Linked DNA regions of Homo sapiens: regions 2 and 3 are each linked to region 1. The links are contacts of gene promoters, found by promoter capture Hi-C in blood cells and fetal thymus (Javierre and others, 2016). All regions are on one chromosome and are shown on one strand. Each heading gives the region's core, a stretch centred on a gene start or on the middle of the fragment in contact. The rest is flanking DNA. Distances are from core to core; before and after follow the strand shown.

Region 1 (4,229 bases), core at 663-3,162:
TGGCACTGTATTTGTTTTCTATTGCTTCTATAACAAATTACCACAAACTTGGTGACATAAAACAACACAAATTTATTGCTTAAAGTTCTGTAGGTCACAGGTCTGACAAGTGTCTCATTGGGCTAAAATCAAGTTGTCAGCAGGGCTGTGTTCCTTCTGGGGGCCTTATGGAAGAATCTGTTTCCATGCCTTTCCCAGCTTCTAGAAGCCTCCAGATTCCTAGGCTCCTGGGCCCTTTCCTCCATCTTCAAAGCCAGCAAGGGCAGATTGAGGTCTTTTCAAGTCACATCACTCTGACCTCTTCTGCCTCCATTTTCCACTTTTTTTTTTTTTTTTTTGAGAACGAGTCTCTCTCTGTTGCCCAGGCTGGAGTGCAGTGGCGTGGTATCAGCTCACTGCAACCTCCGCTTCCCGGGTTCCAGCAATTCTCATGCCTAAGCCTCCAGAGTAGCTGGGACTACAGGCACCCACCACCACGCCAGACTAATTTTTTGTATTTTAGTAGCGACAGGGTTTCACCTTGTTGGCCAGGCTGGTCTTGAACTCTTGACCTCAGGTGATCCACCCACCTTGGCCTCCCAAAGTGCTGGAATTAAGGCCTGAGCCACCGTGCCCAGCCCATTTTCTACTTTTAAGGACCTTATGACAACACTGGGCCCACCCAACTAATCCAGGATAATATCCCTAATTTAATGTCAGCTGATAAGCAACCTTAATTTCATCTGTAACCTCAATTCCCCTTTGCCATGTAACCTAACCTATTCAGTCTCCAGGAATTGGGAAGTGGACATCATTGGCAGGGGGCATTATTCTGCTTGTTATAGGCATACTTGCCCACAAGTCTAAATCGAGAGTTTGCATATAGGAGGTAGGAGGTGTGACAATAATTGGATAAAGGCTTTTCTGGAATGACAAAATTCTCTTCAAATACAGGGAGGCCCTGCGACATGATATCTGGCAAATCACTTGAGTCTTAGTATCCAAACTTCCGCTAAAATGGAAATTACCATCCTTTGCTTGGCATGTTAAATGAAATACTTATGTAAACGGACTTAGATTAGAGGCCTACAAATAGGACTCAAGTTCTTGATGAATCTTGATGAGGAGGGTGGGCGAAGTACTCTAAATGAAAATGAGATAGATTGCGAGATTTCCGGAGAGGAGTGAGTGACAAGCGCCTACCCGTGCATGAAGCTGGAGGTAGAAAATTCCAGCAAAAGGAATTTTCAAGTTTCACTGAAGCTTTTGAATCAAGGCTTGAAAGCCCAGGGTTAAAAAAAAGGCAGTGAAGAAGCTCATTAAGACAACCCCCCGCCAGGTAGCAGATAGCACCTGAAATGCAGTGGGAAATTTGTGAGGTCTTCATAGGCAAGGATTAAATTTTACATCTCCATCTTAAGATGTGTCATAGTTGTTCAATTACTTAGTGACCAAAAAAGTGAATTAAAGATGTTGTCAAGATTAAAAAAACAAAAACCAATGCAGGTTCCACCGAGATTTGAACTCGGATCGCTGGATTCAGAGTCCAGAGTGCTAACCATTACACCATGGAACCGCCACGCATGTGTAGCTGCCTTCGGCTGTCTAATCCTCAGAGAACCCCGCCCCCATCCACAAACCCACCACTCACAGGCGGTCCCGCCTGGTTCCAGCGAGCCGCTTCCGGCACGGTAGCTCGAGAAATGAGCAAGCGGCCACTAAGACTATGGTAGCTAGGAGTTCCAGGACTCAGTTTCCCCTTTGAGCCTCCTTTAGCGACTAAAGCTTGAAGCCCCACGCATCTCGACTCTCGCGCACACCGCCCTTGTTGGGCTCAGGGGCGGGGCGCCGCCCCCGGAAGTACTTCCCCTTAAAGGCTGGGGCCTGCCGGAAATGGCGCAGCGGCAGGGAGGGGCTCTTCACCCAGTCCGGCAGTTGAAGCTCGGCGCTCGGGTTACCCCTGCAGCGACGCCCCCTGGTCCCACAGATACCACTGCTGCTCCCGCCCTTTCGCTCCTCGGCCGCGCAATGGGCACCCGCGACGACGAGTACGACTACCTCTTTAAAGGTGAGGCCATGGGCTCTCGCACTCTACACAGTCCTCGTTCGGGGACCCGGGCCACTCCCGGTGGACCCTCGTGCCGGCCACCCCTGCACTGATATAGGCCTCCCTCAGCCCTTCCTTTTTGTGCGGTTCCGTCTCCTACCCAGCTCAGCCTCTTCTCCCCCGCTCAGACAGGGGTCCCCATCACATGCCGCTCTCTGAGCGACCTCTCCATAGGCCTTCGCTGGCCTCAGAGCCCCTCCCTGCGTGTCCTTCCCCTGGCGGACTGCCTTCTCCCACATCGTCGAATTCCTTTCCCCGGGTTCTACGGCCCCGCCGCTCCTCCCACCATCTCTCTTTTCGGGTGTAGCGCCCCCTCCCCCTCGGCGTACACCCTTCCCAGCTCGCGTCCTCTCCCGAAGCCCCTCTGACGGGTTCTTCGCTTCCCTCTTGGCCTTGCCTTCGGTGCAGACTCCCATTACAGGTCTTTTTCTTATCTGCCCTCTTTCCCCCCTCGAGCGAGCGTCTCTTCTGTATCTCCCCTCCACTTGGACGGCCGCCCCTCTAAGCTTCTCCCATCCCGGGTCCAGGACCCCGTAAAATCTGAGCGGGCCAAGGGCCTCCGCCCCCACCCTCCGCCCCGCGGTTCTCGCGGTCCTTAACCTTCTCTGACCGCTCCCTCTCCCACTCCCCATTTGGCAACTCTCTCTACCTTCCCTCCCCAAATCGTGTTTAGAGCTCCCTTGTCTCCGTTGCGACCTGGGTGGTGGGAGGGAGGGTAAGAGGGATCGCCCATCACCCACTCGCGCACTTGTCGCAGTGACCCGGCAGGCTGACATTACTTCCCACCTAGCCTTTTCTTTTCTTGCCCTCCCTACTCAGTGGCACCCAACCCGGGATAACTCTTTACTCGGTTCGCGAGATGAGGTTGCGGATGGGTGGTGGCTGTTATCCTTGCCAGACCTGAAGGCCTGGTTCCTGAGCAGGAAAGGTTGTGCGCTGCACAAATACTAGCTTGCTTTATCTCTATGAACTGGTTGCTTCCTGCTGCAACGCTGGGAGGATCCAACAGGAAGGGAAGAGCCCTAGTTAGCCACATACCTTTCCCAAAAGGTTGGGGGTGGGAGGAAGTTGTGTGCTCTTTTGGTTACATTAAATATTTATTATAAGATACGGAAACATGTAGTGCCCTTGGACAGAACATATTGGAGGGTCAGGGTTGGTTAGAAAGAATTGCTTATTGGTTGAGTCCGGAAGGAATCCGGTTTTTTTTTTTAATCAACGAAGATAAAGGGTACATTTTTCAATGAGAAGAGAGTACAGTAGATGCTTTTTTTGTTCAGTGAATGCACTCTCACTCTGATGCTCTTTCTCTGCTCCTGAATTGGGAAGGTAGCCATCAGTAGTGTGCCGAACAAAGATCATTACCACTGAGGAAGAAGCCATTGCTATTAAAGCTTTACTGTGGAGGGTGGAGTTTCAAGAGTGTTAAGCATGGTGACTGTTTCTGTCTTTGCCATTGGGTGCTAAGAATGATTGACTAAACCAAGCAGGAAAGATTTCTTTGCTTTCCCAATACTTTGCAAATCTTGTTATACTAACTAGTCTGCTGTTATACTCTTATCATCTCTTACTCCTCTGACTCAGAATATTCTACTGTATAGGGTGAATACTTTTGGTATCCACCCTCCCCCTCCATACTGGAAAGTACTTTCAGGGTACTTAGTTCATTTTACAAATACAAAACTGAGGCCTGGATTACAAAAAGTATATGACAGCATACCTTTTGCCGAAGGTATCTGAGATGATGTGAAACTATTTGAATCTCTTGAGACTTTGGGGTTAAAGGTTAGGTTTGTGTTTTGAAATATGGTATAATGGTAGTGTGCTTTTATAAAGGTTGTCTTTGAAGTAATTAATTCAGAACAAGATAGACCGTCAGGGTATTTCTCCTGTTTGGTTTGAACTTGAATGTTGGTTATACAAGGTCCTTTTATTTTTTAACAAAGAATATTAAATATTCTGAATTGGCCTAAAGTATTTTAACTTTTTGATTAGACCATCCTTCTAGCAACAATTGAGAGCACTGAGCTTTGGAATCACGTAGACCTCGGTTTAGATCCTGACTCAGGTCTTATATTTACTTTATGACCTTGGAAAAGTTAACTTTTCTGAGTCTCAGTTCTCTACTTTATAAAAAGGAAAA
Region 2 (4,229 bases), core at 1,378-3,877, 340 kb before region 1:
GTCTCCCTCTCCACACTTAGCTTTGTACCATCTAGAGAAACCTGACTTTGCTCAGGGATAACTGGCTGGGTGACCCTGGGTGGTTTGAATCCAGCCAAATTCTACAGCTCATTTTCTAAAACCTCTTCCAGAATAGAAGATTTTATACATAGATAACAACAAGGATGTGTATGACCCCTTGCCAAAGGCAGGAAATCAGCCTTCAGCCCTGGGAATGAGCTTAATCCATGGCAAGTACTCAGCAAATGCTTCCTGTAGTTAGTGGTGACTATTCTCTGAGAAGGGAGAGCTGGCCCTTGGCCAAATGAGGCTGGGAAGGCTGCATCTAGAAGGTAGGACAAAAAGACAAGGCTAAATTTGCATTTTCATTTGACCGATAGTATCATAAAACTCTTAGCCCTACCTATTTCAGCTTGGCACTGCCACTTGGCTCTGCCTTTTAATCTCCCCTGCCACCTTCCAGCGTATTTTGGTTTGCTTTTTTTTTTTTGAGACAAGGTTTTGCTCTGTTGTCCAGGCTGGAGTGCATCGGTGCCATCACAGTTCACTGCATCTCTGACCTTCCAAGCTTAAGAGATCCTCCCAGCCTCCTTAGTAGCTAGGACTACAGGCACATGCCACCGTACCTGGCTAATTTTTAAAATTTTTTATAGAGATGGGGTCTCACTGTTTTGCCCAGGCTGGTCTCGAACTCTTAAACTCAAGCGATCCTCCCACCTCAGCCTCCCAAAGCATTGGGATTACAGCATAAGCCACCATGTCCAGCCCCACCCTGGAGTTTTATAGTTCACCAGAATGATACTCTTTCTTCTCTCCATTTCTATTTTTTTTCTTGTTAGATTTCTCTTGCAGAGAGGGGTCCATAATAGTGGGGTCTCTTTGCAGAAAAATTTAGAAACAGCTGATAAGAGCATTAGAGGGAACCAAATCCAACTCATCAAATTTACCTAATTTGATGAATGTGGAAACTCAGGCCTAAAGAAGTCATTTTGCAGTATGTTACTAGTGGTCAAACCAGGCTGGATAGGCCCACTTCCACTGGACCTTTCTTATGAAGCATCTGAGGCAAAATGCCAACATTCAGTCTTCTTCTATATCAATAGCTTTCACCTTGGTAGAAGTCAGCTGATAAGCCTCAGGTTTCAAATACGCTGAATTAAAATTATTCTATTTTTTATTACCCACCTACCAGGATGGCTAAAATTAAAAACATTGGCTGGGGGTGGGGGTGGTGCTGGAAAAAAAAAATTAGGCTGGGTGCTGTGGCTCACGCCTGGGAGGCTGCAGCAGGAGGATCACTTGAGCCCAGGAGTTTGAGACCATTTGAGCCTAGAAGTTTGAGACCAGCATGGCCAACATGGTGAAACCCCATCTCTACTAAAAATAAAAAAATTAGCCAGGTGTGGTGGTGCACACCTATAATCCCAGCTACTTGGGAGGCTGAGGTAGGAGAATCATTTGAACTGCGGAGGTAGAAGTTGCAGTGAGCTGAGATCGCGCCAATGCACTCCAGCCTGGGCAACAGAGCAAGACTCTTTCTCAAAAAATAAAATAAAATAAAATAAAATAAAATTAAATTAAAAAGTCTGAAAATACTAGGGATATAGAGCAACTAGAACTTTCAAACATTGCCGTGGAATGTAAATTGACCAAAACACTTTGTAAAACTGCTTAGCACACCTACTAAAGCTAATCATACACCTGTGTAACCTAGCAATTCCCTTCATAGGTATTTATTCCAAGATAATTAAGAGCATTTATCCCCAAAAGACAGGTACACAAATATTCAGAGCAGCTTTATTTGTAATAGCTAAAAACTAGAAACAACACAAATATCCATCGATAGGAGAATGGATAAATAATTTGTGGTATACTCATATAGTCAACTACTACAGAGCAAAACCAAAAACTAAAAGAATGAATTACTGATTCACTCAGCAACATGGATAAATCTCATACACATTATGTTGATGAAAGAAACCAAGGCCCGGTGCGGTGGCTCACATCTGTAATCCCAGCACTTTGGGAGGCTGAAGCGGGTGGATCATGAGGTCAGGAGTTCAAGACTAGCCTGGCCAAGATGGTGAAACCCCGTATCTACTAAAATACAAAAATTAGGGGCCAGGCACGGTGGCTCATGCCTGTAATCCCAGCACTTTGGGAGGCTGAGGCAGGCAGATCACGAGGTCAGGAGTTAGAGACCATCCTGACCAACATGGTGAAACCCCGTCTCTACTAAAAATACAAAAATTAGCTGGGCGTGATGGCGGACAGCTGTAATCCCAGCTACTTGGGAGGCTGAGGCAGGAGAATCGCTTGAATTGGGAGGCCGAGGTTGCAGTGAGCCGAGACTGCACCACTGCACTCCATCCTGGGTGACAGAGCAAGACTCTGTCTCAAAAAAAAAAAAAAGAAAAAAGAAAAAGAAACCAGACACTGTAGGTTCCATTTATATAAAATTCAAGAACAGAACAGACAAAAAAGACTCTATGGTGATATATCAGGATAGTAATTACTGAGAGGCAAAGATATTTTAACATGAAATAACCTCTGGGATACTGGAAATATTCCAGATCTTGATCTAGGTGATAATTACATGGATATATACATATAGAAAAATTCAGCTTAAACTGAATATTTAAGATTTACCCATGTTCTATATGTAAACTACATCTCAATGTTTTTAAAAAGTGCCCCATATTGCATCTGCATTGTAGTAAACACAATACAATAAAATACCTTTATCATAAAAAATATTTTATCGTTAAAATTCAAGACTGTCAACGTCACTGCTTTCATCAACTCATTCTTGGCAGATTGCATTGGTCTCCCATTGCTTTGCCTACTACCAATTCCTCCTCCTCTCTGACAGGTCTTTCTTGCTGAGCACATTTGATTTTACTAATCTCCAGGTTAACAAACTTCCTTGGCTCCCATGTGTCTGTGGGATACAGTATAGGCACCTCAGTGAAGCAAACAAAGACTTTCCTAATGCACCCTCTGCCTTTCCAGATTCAGGGCGACCTCTCTCCTCTATGCCTTTAATCCCTAGCAGCAGAACCTCCTTCCACAACCCTCTCTCTTTTTTAAATTTTAAGACAGGGCCTCACACTGTCACCCAAGCTGGAGTGCAGTGGCGCGATCTCGCCTCCTGGGCTTAAGCAATTCTCCCACCCTAGCCTCCCGAGTAGCTCGGACCCCAGGGGCGCGCCAACCACGCCCTGCTAACTGTTGTATTTTTTGTAGAGACAGTGTATTGCCATTTTTCCCAGGCTGGTCTCAAACTCCTGGGCTCCAGCGATCCTCCCGCCTCGTCCTCCCAAAGTGCTGGGATTACACGCGTGAGACGCTGCACCTGGTCCACATCTTTTCACCTGTGAACGAAGCAAGCGCCCTGTGCTTCCACGGCCTACCTGGTTCTTACTCAGTCAAATTCCTACTCGCATTTCACCATCCCGTTCTCAAGGGTTGGCTCTCAAATGTCTGACAATGGTTCCCACGGCCCTCAGTTCCTATCATCATAAACTCTTTGTGAGCTCAGCACATTCATTATATGAAAACTCTCTATATTTTATTCTGTCCACTCTTGAGCTAAATGTTTCCAGAGAGCTAGCAGAATTTGTTTTCAGCGTTAGATCCCTCTGCTAAACAAACGGGTGCTAATAGAATCACTTTGCTAAATAAATGGGAGCTAACAGGATTGAATATGAGTTCCATTTTTGTCCCAGAGTTCTAGTTTTCATATAAATATTTCTTCCCATTAAATTCTTCTCTGCAGAAGAACTTGGGGATGAAACCCGATACAGACAAGACAGCTTAAGTAAGACATAAATGAGTGTTGTCTCTAGTTTGAGTTTCCTATTTTTTTGAGACAGTCTCCTGCACTGTCCAATAGAATAGCCACCAAAAATATGGATATTTAAGTTTAAATTAGAAGTGAATAAAGTTGGCCGGGCGCGGTGTCTCACGCCTATAATCTCAGCACTTTGGGAGGCCAAGGCGGGCGGATCACCTGAGGTCGGGAGTTCGAGACCAGCCTGACCAACATGGAGAAACCTCGTCTCTACTAAAAATACAAAATTAGCCGGTGGCGCATGCCTGTAATCCCAGCTACTCGGGAGGCTGAGGCAGGAGAATCACTTGAACCCGGGAGACAGAGGTTGCGGTGAGCCGAGATCGCGCCATTGCACTCCAGCCTGGGCAACAAGAGAGAAACTCCGTCTCAAAAC
Region 3 (4,229 bases), core at 1,052-3,551, 290 kb before region 1:
TGACCAGAAGCAGGCTAAGGAAGACAGCTGAATGAAACAACGTCATCATCACAGTTAATGAGCATTTATGCCACATGTGGTAGTCAGCACTTTGCATCCATCATTTCGTTACTCCTAACTTTAAGGAGGAGTACTTTTCCCCTGTTATTTAGGTATGGAAAAGACTTGCCCTCAATCTGAAAACGCTCTTAACCCTCTGATGCCACTGTGGTGGGGCCTCAGGCTAAGACAATAAACAGGCTCAAGAGGAGGCCCTGGAGGAGTCAGAGTGGAAAGACCAACAAAAAGAAAGGCTGGTTACTGATAGAAGCAGAGAAATATGAAGTGCCCCAACAACCCCTTAGTGGAGTGGTCTGGGCAAGTTATATAGCCTCTCTGGGTCTCAAAGGCCTCATTTATAAAATGAGGAGAATAACCCCTTCCTTACCCACTGCAGAGGCTGAAGCACTTTCCCTAGGCCCTTTTGAGCTCTAATATGTAGCATTATATAAAACCAGAAAAGAGAAATGGGCTCTCTGACCATCTTTCTACTATCATCTGTTAAAAAAGTGGAAAGTTAAGAAGAAGGCCAAACAAGTGTGTCATCATGAGTAAATAGCTGATGACTGTAGGAAGCTCTGCAGGGAGGATGGACTGTGTGGATTATGGGCTTCAGTTTAGGGAGGGGCCTGGCTGGCTAAGAAGCTCTCCAGTTGAACTCTTGATTAAAGCTGTTTTATTTCACCAGCTTACTACATAATTAAGTTTGAAGACAACAGTGACATAAAGGTAATGAGATAACACCCAGACAAAGTAGCATGTATCTTCTCTGGTTAAGATGCTAGCCTAAGGCTGGCTGTGTGTGCCACATTTTAGAATTAGAAAGCTAAGACACAAATGACATACTTTATGCTGCACTTAATTTAATTCCAGCCAAACACCAGAACAATAGGGGAGAATCAAGGAGCAAACCTAAATGTTCCCCACTCTACCCCACCCCCTGTAACTTAACAGTCTCTTCACCAATCGTTCTGGATTAGCTGCATATGATTCTGCAGGGCTATCTCCTCTGCAATTCATAAATGTGTAATGTTAGATATCATTCCTAGAAGCAGAGTCTCTGGTGCAATAAAAATGTTCTGGGGTGGCCAGGTGGGGTGGCTCACGCTTGTAATCCCAGCACTTTGGGTGGATCACCTGAGGTCAGGAGTTCGGGACCAGCCTGGCCAACACAGCGAAACCCCATCTCTACTGAAAATACAAAAATTAGGCCGGGAACGGTGGCTCACGCCTGTAATCCCAGCACTTTGGGAGGCCGAGGCGAGCGGATTACCTGTGGTCAGGAGTTCAAGACCAGCCTGGCCAACATGGTGAAACCCCGTCTCTACTAAAAATACAAAAATTAGCCGGGCATGGTGGCACACACCTGTAATCCCAGCTACTTGGGAGGCTGAGGCAGGAGAATTGTTTGAGCCCGCGAGGCGGAGGTTGCAGTGAGCTGAGATCGTGCTACTGCACTCCAGCCTGGCCGACAGAGTGAGACTCTGTCTCAAAAACAAAAAAACAAAAATTAGCTGGGCGTGGTGGCACGTGCCTGTAGTACTAGCTACTCAGGAGGCTGAGGCAGGAGAATCACTTGAACCTGTGAGGCAGAGGTTGCAGTGACCCAAGATTGCACCACGACACTCCAGCCTGGGCAACAGAGTGTGACTCCATCTCAAAAAAAAAAAAAAAAAAAAAAAAAAAAAAGAATGTTCTGGGCAATTCCCCATCCAGGAAGCCACATACATTGGTTGCCTGGGGTTGGCCTGGATACCCATATAGGAGTGATGAGGAGAGTTCAGGGCTATGACCCACAGGTCCTCTAAGCTGCTTCCATCAGTCATTCATTCACAGCAGCCCCAACACAGAAAAACCTTCTGCCTGTACAGAATTAGGCCATTTAAATTCTTCCAATTCTTGGATTTTAGGGAAGGAACAGACCTATCACTTTTACTGAGTTTATTTGAAAAAACTGAGGCACAAGTCATACATCTCTAACCCCTGCCCATATTCACACTGCCATCTCACAGTTTTACTGTCGTGAACCATATATTTTGGGCACATCCTCTTCTGTCTGTCTCACCTTATAGAATGTCTGTGTTTTTTCAGGTAGTTTCCTTGCATTTCTTAAAATCTTCTGTACATCTGTCTATTAAGGGTAAAAAAAAAAATCCAACATTAGAATTCTGTGGTAAAAAAGGGAAATAATATAAAAGAATGGATCTAAATGTTTAAAGAGATGAAAATGAGAACACAGCTACAATGTCAAGATGAGGATCCCTTCTGAGTTAATGTCAGTTCAACATTAGTAAAGCACTCCCTCCTTCAAAAGGCTTGACAGTAAAATAAATCCCCTGACAGAAACGAACTTGCCTCATAAAAATGTACCCAGTAAACCCATACATCTATTGCCAGGGACTTTTTTGCAAAGACGATTCAATGGGGAAAAAATAGTCTCTTCAACATTTGGTGCTGAGACAACTGGATATCCACAAGCAAAAGAATAAAGTTGGACCCTTACATCATACCATATACAAAAAACTAACTCAAAATGGATCAGAGACCTACATGTAAAAGCTAAAACTATAAAACTCTTAGAAAAAAACGGGCCAGGTGCAGTGGTGTGCCCCTGTAATCCTAGCTACTCAGGAGGATTGCTTGAGGCCAGAAGTTTGAGACCAGCCTGGGCAACGTAGTGAGATGTGTTTCTCAAGAGAAAAAGAGAAGAAGAAAAAGAAAACACAGCGGGTAAATCTTTATGACTTTGGATTTGGCAATGATCTCTTAGTTAAGACAGCACAAAGCACAAACAACAAAAGCAAGAGACAAAATTTGACTTCTTCAAAACCAAAAACTTTGTGTATCAAAGGACACTATAAAGAGAGTGAAAAGATAACTCACAAAATGGGAGAAGATATTTGCAAATCATGTATCTGCTAAGGATCATAATATCCAGAATATATAAAAAACCCAACAACAAAAAGACAAACCCAATTAAAAAATGGACAAAGAACTTGAGTATATACTTCTCCAAATAATATACACAAATGGCCAATAAGCACAGGAAAAGATGCACATTATTGGTCATCAAGGAAATGCAAAAACAAAGACATACCACTTCACACCTACTATGATAGCTATATGATAATAATAATAAAAGGAAAACAATGAGTATTGGTAGGAACGTGGAGAAACTAGAACACTTATACACTGCTAGCAGAAATGTAAAATGGTGTGGCTGCTGTGAGAGAGTGTGGCAATTCCTCAGTAAGTTAAAGAGAATTGCTGTCTGACCCAGCAATCCCATTCCCATTAAAATATATACCCAAGAGTATTGAAAACAAATGTTCAGACCAAAACTTATACATGAATGTTTGTAACAGCATTATCCACAATAGCCAAAAGGTAACCCTAATGTCCGTCAACTGAGGGATAATCAAAATGTGACATATACATATAGACATATGGAATATTAGCCATAAAAAGGAATGAAGTACTGATACATACTACAACATGAATAAACCTTGAAAACATCATGCTAAGTACAAGAAGTCAAACACAAAAGGCCACAAATTGTATGATTCTGTTTACATGAAATATCTAGAATAGGTAAGTCCATAGAGACAGAAAGAAAATCAATGGTTGCCAGGGCCCGGAAGAAGGAATGTGGAGTGACTTTCCTAATGGGCACAGGGTTTCCTTTTGGAGTGATTAAAATGTTCTGGAACTAGAGAGTGGTGATGGTACATTGTGAATGTACTAAATGGGACTGAATTGTGTACTTTAAAATGGTTGAAGGTACATTTTATGTATATTTTACCAGAATAAGAAAAATAAACCCAAGATAGTAGTGAAGATTCAAACAAAAAAAATTAAAAAAAATAATTTAAGAAAAGCTCAGCTATAACTGGTGGTGAAAGTGGTTCTAATATCCCTCTGACAAGGAAGCACTGGGGTCAGGGATATCAGGAAAATAGAAGACCCTGATTTTCCAACAAAGAGGCCCCTGACACTTTAGCCTTGGCAGGATGTGGTTCAGTCTCCATGGAAACGGGGCTCAGAGACTGTGCAGTCAACAGAAACTACTTTTGTTGTCCAAGTGGCCTGTCTCTTCTCATTTGGTTTAGGTTGAACTTACTGGAAGAACAAATGTAAATAAAGGTGCTCAAAGGAGAAAAAAGTTTCAATAAGTGATTTTTAAAAACAGG

Evidence for each region. The method cuts DNA at HindIII sites, captures the fragments that hold promoters and counts their contacts. A CHiCAGO score of 5 or more calls a contact.
Region 2: a fragment that was not itself captured here is called in contact with the fragment with the promoter of RAB11A in region 1 in 2 of 17 cell types (fetal thymus and total CD8 T cells); the score reaches 10.0 in fetal thymus.
Region 3: a contact is called between a fragment that was not itself captured here and the fragment with the promoter of RAB11A in region 1, in 3 of 17 cell types (fetal thymus, endothelial precursors and total CD8 T cells). The highest score is 6.8, in fetal thymus.

What each region holds. Positions count from the first base shown.
Region 1 is chr15:65,867,579-65,871,807 of GRCh38, forward strand. It overlaps RAB11A (RAB11A, member RAS oncogene family), which reads left to right and starts at 1,913. Exons shown (of 5, transcript NM_004663.5): 1 at 1,913-2,047. The coding sequence starts at 2,008. TRQ-CTG1-4 (tRNA-Gln (anticodon CTG) 1-4) reads right to left here and starts at 1,555; the gene lies at 1,484-1,555. RefSeq lists an enhancer at 1,727-1,786. The HindIII fragment of the contact is 828 bases long and covers 1,763-2,590 here.
Region 2 is chr15:65,525,589-65,529,817 of GRCh38, forward strand. No RefSeq gene overlaps it. Among named protein-coding and RNA genes, the nearest start is that of HACD3, 2.8 kb to the right of the region's middle. RefSeq lists an enhancer at 3,199-3,699. The HindIII fragment of the contact is 4,122 bases long and covers 567-4,229 here.
Region 3 is chr15:65,579,850-65,584,078 of GRCh38, forward strand. INTS14 (integrator complex subunit 14) reads right to left here. Exons shown (of 12, transcript NM_001394796.1): 11 at 2,105-2,170. Among named protein-coding and RNA genes, the nearest start is that of INTS14, 29 kb to the right of the region's middle. The HindIII fragment of the contact is 5,930 bases long and covers 1-4,229 here.